Linked DNA regions of Homo sapiens: region 1 is linked to region 2. The links are contacts of gene promoters, found by promoter capture Hi-C in human tissues and cell types (Jung and others, 2019). All regions are on one chromosome and are shown on one strand. The core of a region is centred on a gene start or on the middle of the fragment in contact, and the rest is flanking DNA. Distances in the headings are between cores, read along the strand shown.

The links. Contacts are between HindIII fragments. The study calls those that stand out against the background at their distance.
Region 1: a contact is called between a fragment that was not itself captured here and the fragment with the promoter of ITGB4 in region 2, in 3 of the 25 tissues and cell types used here (IMR-90 fibroblasts, dorsolateral prefrontal cortex and hippocampus).

What each region holds. Positions count from the first base shown.
Region 1 is chr17:75,344,724-75,347,998 of GRCh38, reverse strand. The region is part of intron 2 of GRB2 (growth factor receptor bound protein 2); the gene reads left to right. Among named protein-coding and RNA genes, the nearest start is that of SLC25A19, 57 kb to the right of the region's middle. RefSeq lists enhancers at 548-627, 638-697, 2,308-2,587, 1,962-2,953 and silencers at 838-897, 809-977. The HindIII fragment of the contact is 8,077 bases long and covers 1-3,275 here.
Region 2 is chr17:75,719,600-75,723,279 of GRCh38, reverse strand. ITGB4 (integrin subunit beta 4) reads right to left here and starts at 1,821. Exons shown (of 40, transcript NM_000213.5): 1 at 1,668-1,821. RefSeq lists enhancers at 1-86, 1,001-1,539, 1,540-2,078 and silencers at 1,799-2,188, 2,199-2,258. The HindIII fragment of the contact is 11,256 bases long and covers 1-3,680 here.

The DNA of each region.
Region 1 (3,275 bases), core at 92-2,591, 370 kb after region 2:
TCCAAGTAGTTGGTAGAATTTGGATACTTTCTGCCCCATAACAAATGTCACTTTATATAAAGGAGCATGTCCTTAATGCATTCCAAAAGACATATACAACTGATTTTAGGCTAATTTCAGTCTGAGTCCTGGTAGAGAACACCTGACACACTTAAATTGAGAGGATTTTAATAATGAGACTATTTGCAAGGTGTTGACTCCAGCTGGGGACCTCCACACTCAGCCCACTCAGGCTAAGTCTTGGTTGCGCACCAGCTCAGCTCATGGCTGGGCTGGGTATGCCCCAGCTCACCTGTGTTATGGCTTGTTCCCAGGTTCAGCAGTTCCCAAGGTCTTGTCCTGTGTCTGAGAAGAATGAGGTTACACTGGCAATTTAAGGGTGAGGAGGGTGGAGAAGAATTTTATTGAGCGGTGAACAGCTTTCAGGAGCGGAGGAGGTAGTGGTTCCCCACCCCTGAAGTCTGGTGGTTTCTCTCCCAGTGTGGCTGGGTGGGGGCTTTTATGGGCTCAGAACAGGGGCATGCATGCTGAATGGTTTGTGGGCATGCAAAGAAAGGCTAAAGCAAAGGCACCACTCAAAGATGGGCATGGCAGTGTAGAAAATCAATTCGGAAAGGGTAGGTAGATGTAAAATAGGTGAAGAGTGGGGATCAATCAGAGGAAAGCCTACCAAATGGGAAGATGGGTTCTCAGTCCGGTCCATGGATTTGACCTGTAGTGTGGCTTTCAGGCTTTCAGTTGTCTTTGGCTTAGAGGTGGGGTTTCACTGGAGACCCGCCCCTGTGAGGCATTTGTCTGCCTCCTGCCGCTATCAGTGTGGGCGAAGTTTCTCTAGAAACCACAGGGATAATGCAGTGTCCACAGCTGGTAATCAGGTTACCACCATGAGGCCTACGACAGGGAGAAGGAAGGGGGAGGAGTTGCCCAAACCTGGAGAAGGAAAGGACTTACTTTCAATTGAGAGTCCAAGACTGTCCACAGACACTCTCAGGGTGGGAGCTGGGAGAATGAATGCCCTGACCTGACCCTCCCTTCGTCTGACCTTCTGCAGGCCTCCCCATTGATTAATAGCACTGGGAGCCAGAGAGTGAGGGAGCCTGTTGATGTGGTTCTTACAGAGCCAAAAAGTCAGAGCAGGCTGGGCACAGTGGCTCATGCCTGTAATCCCAGCACTTTGAGAGGCCAAGGTGACTTGAGGTTAGGAGTTTGAGACTAGCCTGGCCAACATGATGAAACCCCGTCTCTACTAAAAAATACAAAAATTAGCCAGGTGTGGTAATCCCAGCTGCTTGGGAGGCTGAGGCAGGGGAATCATTTGAACCCGGGCGGTGGAGGTTGCAGTGAGCCAGGATTGCACCACTGCACTCCTGCCTGTGCAAAGAGTGTGACTCTGTCTCAAAAAAAAAAAAAAAAAAAAAAAGGCAAGAAAAGCAAGGTGTAACTGGATCTGGAGAGACAGATGGAGGATACCAGCATAAGATTGATACCTGTCTTTGTTTTTTGGAGACGGAGTCTCACTCTATTGCCCAGGCTGGAATGCAGTGGCGCAGTCTCGGCTCCCTGCAACTTCTGCCTCCCAGGTTCAAGCGATTCTCCTGCCTCAGCCCCCCGAGTAGCTGGGACTACAGGCGCCCGCCACCGTGCCCAGATAATTTTTTGTATTTTGTAGTAGAGACAGGGTTTTACCATGTTGGCCAGGCGGGTCTTGAACTCCTGACCTCAAGTGATCCGCCTGCCTTGGCATCCCAAAGTGCTGGGATTACAGGCATCAGCCACTGTGCCCAGCCAATATAGCAGTTTTTCTAAAGCAGTTTTCAGAAAAAAAAAAAAAAAAAATCAGTGGCCGAGAGGAAGACCACTGAGCAGCATCTCATCACCAAGTCCTTTTGATTCTACCTCCAGAAATACCTCGACTCTCTCCTCTCTACCGCACTGCCCCACCCACCTGCACCTCCTTGCAGTTCATCTCACAGTCAGCCAGAGGAGCTTTTGAAAAATGCAAACCTGAATGTCACTCTCAGCGACTTCTGATGATTGTAACATATAAGCTTGAGCTTCTTAATTTGCATACTGTGGTCTTCTGCCAGACCACCCACAGGAGAGCCTTTGATCTCCCTTCAAATGTCACTGGCTTGGGGAGGCTTTCTCAGGCAGCCCCCACCCCGAGACTAGTTTAGGTCCCTGTGTTTTCTGCTCCCTGACCCTGTCCACTAGCTTGAATCCACATTTGCAGTTTGTATTGTCATTACCTGTTGAACTCTCTGCATTCGCCTCCACCCTGGGGGTGGGGGTGGGGGTGGGGGTAGGGACTTGCCACTCTACCCCAGTTCCTCTTCCTCTGTCATGTGATTATAACAAGCCTTTCCCGATTTGGAACTAGATTAACTGCTTCAGAAGTAGAAAATGCATTTGGAACTAGCTTTTTGAGTTGGAAATTAACGGTGTCCTGGTGGGAGGACCCCAGCCTTGAGTTTTTCAGTCCTGTATCCTTATGCACACGTTGGTGAATAGTTCTGTGACCAACATTGCTTTTTCTTCTTTCAATAACATCCTCTGAGGTGGCTCTTGGGTCACAGAACGACTGAAAATCGATCAGTCCTTTCATTGACCCCTTGAATCATAGTCTTACGTGGAATTAAATAAACTCTGTTGTCGGGCGGGGTGCGGTGGTTCACGCCTGTAATCCCACAACTTTGGGAGGCTGAGGTTGGCGGATCACGAGGTCAGGAGATCGAGACCATCCTGGCTAACACGGTGAAACCCCGTCTCTACTAAAAATACAAAAAAAATTAGCCAGGCGTGGTGGCGGGCGCCTGTAGTCCCAGCTACTCAGGAGGCTGAGGCAGGAGAATGGGATGAACCCAGGAGCGGAGGTTGCAGTGAGCCGAGATTGCGCCACTGCACTCCAGCCTGGGGGACAGAGCAAGACTCCATCTCAAAAATAATAATAATAAATAAAATTTAAAAAAAAACCTCTGTTGTCATTAATTTTCAGGGTAGAGGTTTGAGCTCCTGTTTTCTGCTTTATGCTGAGGCAGTGGGAAGTGAGTGGAGACCTTAGAGGGTGGAACTGACACACAGGAGCGGGTTTGCCTGTTAGCATCACAAAACATGAGTAACAGCTGCTCCCCCAGGCGGGGGGGTTGGGAGGGGGTGTGGGGGGTTGGGGAGGCTTTGTGTTTTATTTTTTGAAGAGAGGAGTGTAGGATTTCATGTAAGATTAAAAGCCTCCTTCTGTTAGTGAAAGGATGAAAAGGACAGTTGCTAAATATGTG
Region 2 (3,680 bases), core at 572-3,071:
GAGGAGATTGCTCAGCACAGGAGCCCGGCGGGAGATGATTTCATTCTGCCCGTTTCCCAGATGAGAGACCAGGCACAGAAGGCTGTGGAACTTCCCCATCCCGCGGACAGCACTGGGAGGGCCAGGACAGGGCCCTGCTCTGCAGGCCCTGCCTTTAACCTCCATGGCAGCCTCCACGCAGAAGCTACAAAATGGCAGTTAGAGGGTTGGCGAGGCACCCAAGAGTGTTTGGCTTCATTTGTTTAGAAAGTTTTAAAAGTAGGAGCCAATGTTAGAAACAACGAGATTTCCCATAAAAGTTAGGAATTTGTGTTTATCATTAGATGTATCACGATGGGCTGGGCCCAGCGCTCAGGACACCTACTCTCCAGGCGGCCCGGACCCCACCAGGCTGCCCCGACTTTATGTACCAGCAGGTCCCTGGAGTGTGTGACTGCCACCCTGAATGCCATCACACTGCAGCACAGGCAGTTTCCCCCCCACAGGGACACACACACACACACACACACACACACACACACAGGCCATGCCCACCCACCCACAGGCTCAGAGCTCCCCTGGCCCCCATCCCAACCCCTGGGGACCCCTCTGGGCACACCTGCTCCTGTCCACTATCCTCTCCCGCTGTCACATCTCCTCCCCTCAGGGACCCAGGCCCTTCCTCGCCCCAGAGAGGCAGCTGGCCAGAAGTCTGGGGACCCCAGGCCCTTGGCTGTTCTGTCTCCCTGAGAAATCAGGGTCGAGTAGACAGACATACCTCCCCTCCTGTCCCTCCTGCTGTCCTTCCCTCAGCCCCCAGGATGGAGACTCCAAGCCTTCACTGCCAGCTCTGTTTCGGACAGCAACAACCATGCCACCTGTGCCTGGTCCTTGTCCTCAGGGTGTGGCAAGGCCATGGGGGCAGAGGAGAAGCCCTGTCCCTGCTCCTGGGAGTCACCAGGAGCCCCAGAGCCCCAGTCCCAGCCAGAGGGCCACCCCAGAGGCTGAGCCATGGGAAAGAGGGCGGATGCTGCAGGAGGTGGCAGTGTTGGGCACAGCCCTGGGGCTGGTGGGTGAGGCCTGTAGAGCTTCCTGAAGGAAGGCGCCTGGGGCTGACTTTGGGAGGAAGGCAGGCCTGTGCTTGGCCAAGAGAAAAGGAAAATCAGGGACTCCCCAGCCCCAGATGGACTGTGGCACCGCATAGAGCAAGCCCTGCCTGGAGCCGGGATGGCGTCTGCCTCTCAGGGTGGCTTTTAAAAGTAGGAGCCAATGTTAGAAAGAACGAAATTTCACATAAAAGTCAGGAATGTTGGTTTATCATTAGATGCGCCATGATGGGCTGGGCCCAGCACTCAGGCTGGTGTCTACTCCACCTTCTTTGCAAACCCTGGAGGGGCCCAGCCCCAGAGGGCTACCAGCCACTGGCCTCTGCCCACTTCTCCCGCAGGCGCACCCAAGGCGCTCCTCTGGCCTGGAGGTCTGATGGGCACCACCCTTCTCTAGCTGCCCTGCCCCTTGGCTGCCAGCTGCCCCCGGCGCACCCCGGGGAGGCTGGGCACCTGTCCTGCGCAGCGTGGACAGAGGGACCGGGGCCTGTCAGCCTTCAGGGAGGGGAAGGGGAGACAAAAGCCACCGGCCCTGCCCGACCAGCTCCCCTGCGCGGCTGCCCAGCTGGGGCGGGCACTCACCCTCTCCCGGCCAGCCTCGGCTGCTGCTGTGCGCCCGTCCTGGACCTACCTCGGGGCGGACTCGCTCCCTCCGCGCCTGGGCTGCCGCTAGGAGATGGGGCTGCAGCGCGCGGGCGAGCAGGGACTGTCCGAGGGCGGGCGCGGGGGTTGGGGGGGTGGGGACGAGGCGGGCAGCGCTTTATGGGGCGGGCGCGCAGGTAGGAAGGAGGCGCTGGTGAGTCAGACCGGCTGCATTCCTTCGCGCGGCGCGCACCTGTCGGGGCAGGAGCTGGGTGCCGCCGCCGGAGCCGGGTCCGCCCCCCGGAAAGGGCTGCGGCTCCCGCGGCGCCCGCCCAGCGCCCCGATCGGCTAGCGGCGGGGGCCGGGGGAGGAGCCACCGCTCTCCCTCTCCCTCCGGTCCGGCCCTGGGCGCGGGGCCTCCCCACCCCTCCAGGCTCCGGGCTCCAGGCTCGGGTGCGCGGACTGCCCCGGGCTGGAGGCGGCCTCTTAGCCCCCGTCCGCACGGGAACCCTCCCTGCCCCGACTCTGGGCCGCTAGCCAACGCCGGGCTGTGCTGCTGCTGCTGCCCCGACGGTCGTCAGCCGCGTACCCCCCTCCCCGCTCTCCGTGCCAGCGCGAGGCATGGGCCCAGGGAGTGCCCCCGGCCCGGTCGGGAGGCCTGACTCCCCGTCCCAGCTCTGCTCTGCAGTTCACGGGGTCCTCTCAGCCTCCAACCCCTAACCTCACGTTGTATCCAGAGGGAGAGCCGAGGAAGGGTCGGGTCCTCGGTGCACCCTTCAACAAGCTACTTAAATCTCCTTACAGTGTGAACAGTGATACCCTGGAGAGGTCAGTGCCGACCTGGCATGGATTGGCACTCGATGCCTTGTTACAGTTGTTCTTAACAAGCTGGTTACAGAGCTGGCCCCTCCCTCCCGTCAGTCCTCTGAGAGCAGTCTCTCCATTGCCACTGCTTACCACGGGTGTTCAGGTCAGAGAAGGGCTTCATTTTTCTTTTTCTTTTTGTTTTCTCTCTCTTTTTTTTTTTAGATGGAGTCTCACTCTGTCGCCGAGGCTGGAGTGCAGTGGTGCAATCTTGGCTCACTGCAACCTCTGCCTCCCGGGTTCAAGCGCTTCTCCTGCCTGTTTCCCGAGTAGCTGGGATTACAGGTGCCCGCCACCACGCCCGGCTAATTTTTGTATTTTTAGTACATCATGTTGGCCAGGCTGGTCTCGAACTCCTGACCTCAGGTGATCCACCCGTCTTGGCCTTCCAAAGTGCTGGGATTATAGGCGTGAACCACCATGCCCAGCCAGGGCTCCATTTTTCTCTAGGCTTACTGGCCAGCAATGCCAAACAACACCAGACTGCTGGCACAGCACTGTCCAAACCATGCGGTTTCAAGCCACCGTGCTTTTTCAACAGGCTGGTCCCTTCCCATGACATTGAGCCCAGTTTATCCTTCTTGTCCTTGAAGACGTTGCACCAACCACGTGCTAGAGAGCCTTCCTTGACCTCTCCACACCCCAAGTTGGTTTATGTGTCCCCATAACCCTTGGGCCATGGCTTTTACATGGCATTTGCCACATTGGTTTGAAATGATGTTTAGGAATCTCGCCACACTGTTGGACTGTGACTCCAAGGGCAGCTACTCTCTAGCACCTAGCACCATGCCTGGTGCATAGCAGGTGCTCAATAAAAGGGTGGTTGAGTGAATGGGATGGTCACACAGCCTCCCTGAGCCTCCATGCTGTCATCTGTAAACAGATTCCTCCACTGCTACCTCTCAGAGTGATTGCAGGGGTGCTGGTTGCAAATGTGTGAGTCGCCACCTTTCCTGGTCATCTGAGAGCTGTTCTGCACAGAGAAAGTGTTCAGAGAGGCTTGCTCCTGGATTTGGGAACAATGTGGAAGGAGTCCCAGTTTGGTTGAAGCACTCAGATCTGTGTGTGTCAGGCCAGCACAAGTGCCCTGTGGACCTGAGTCACTCCAGCAGGTACCTATCCACCCCAAAAAACAGAAACATGGAGCAG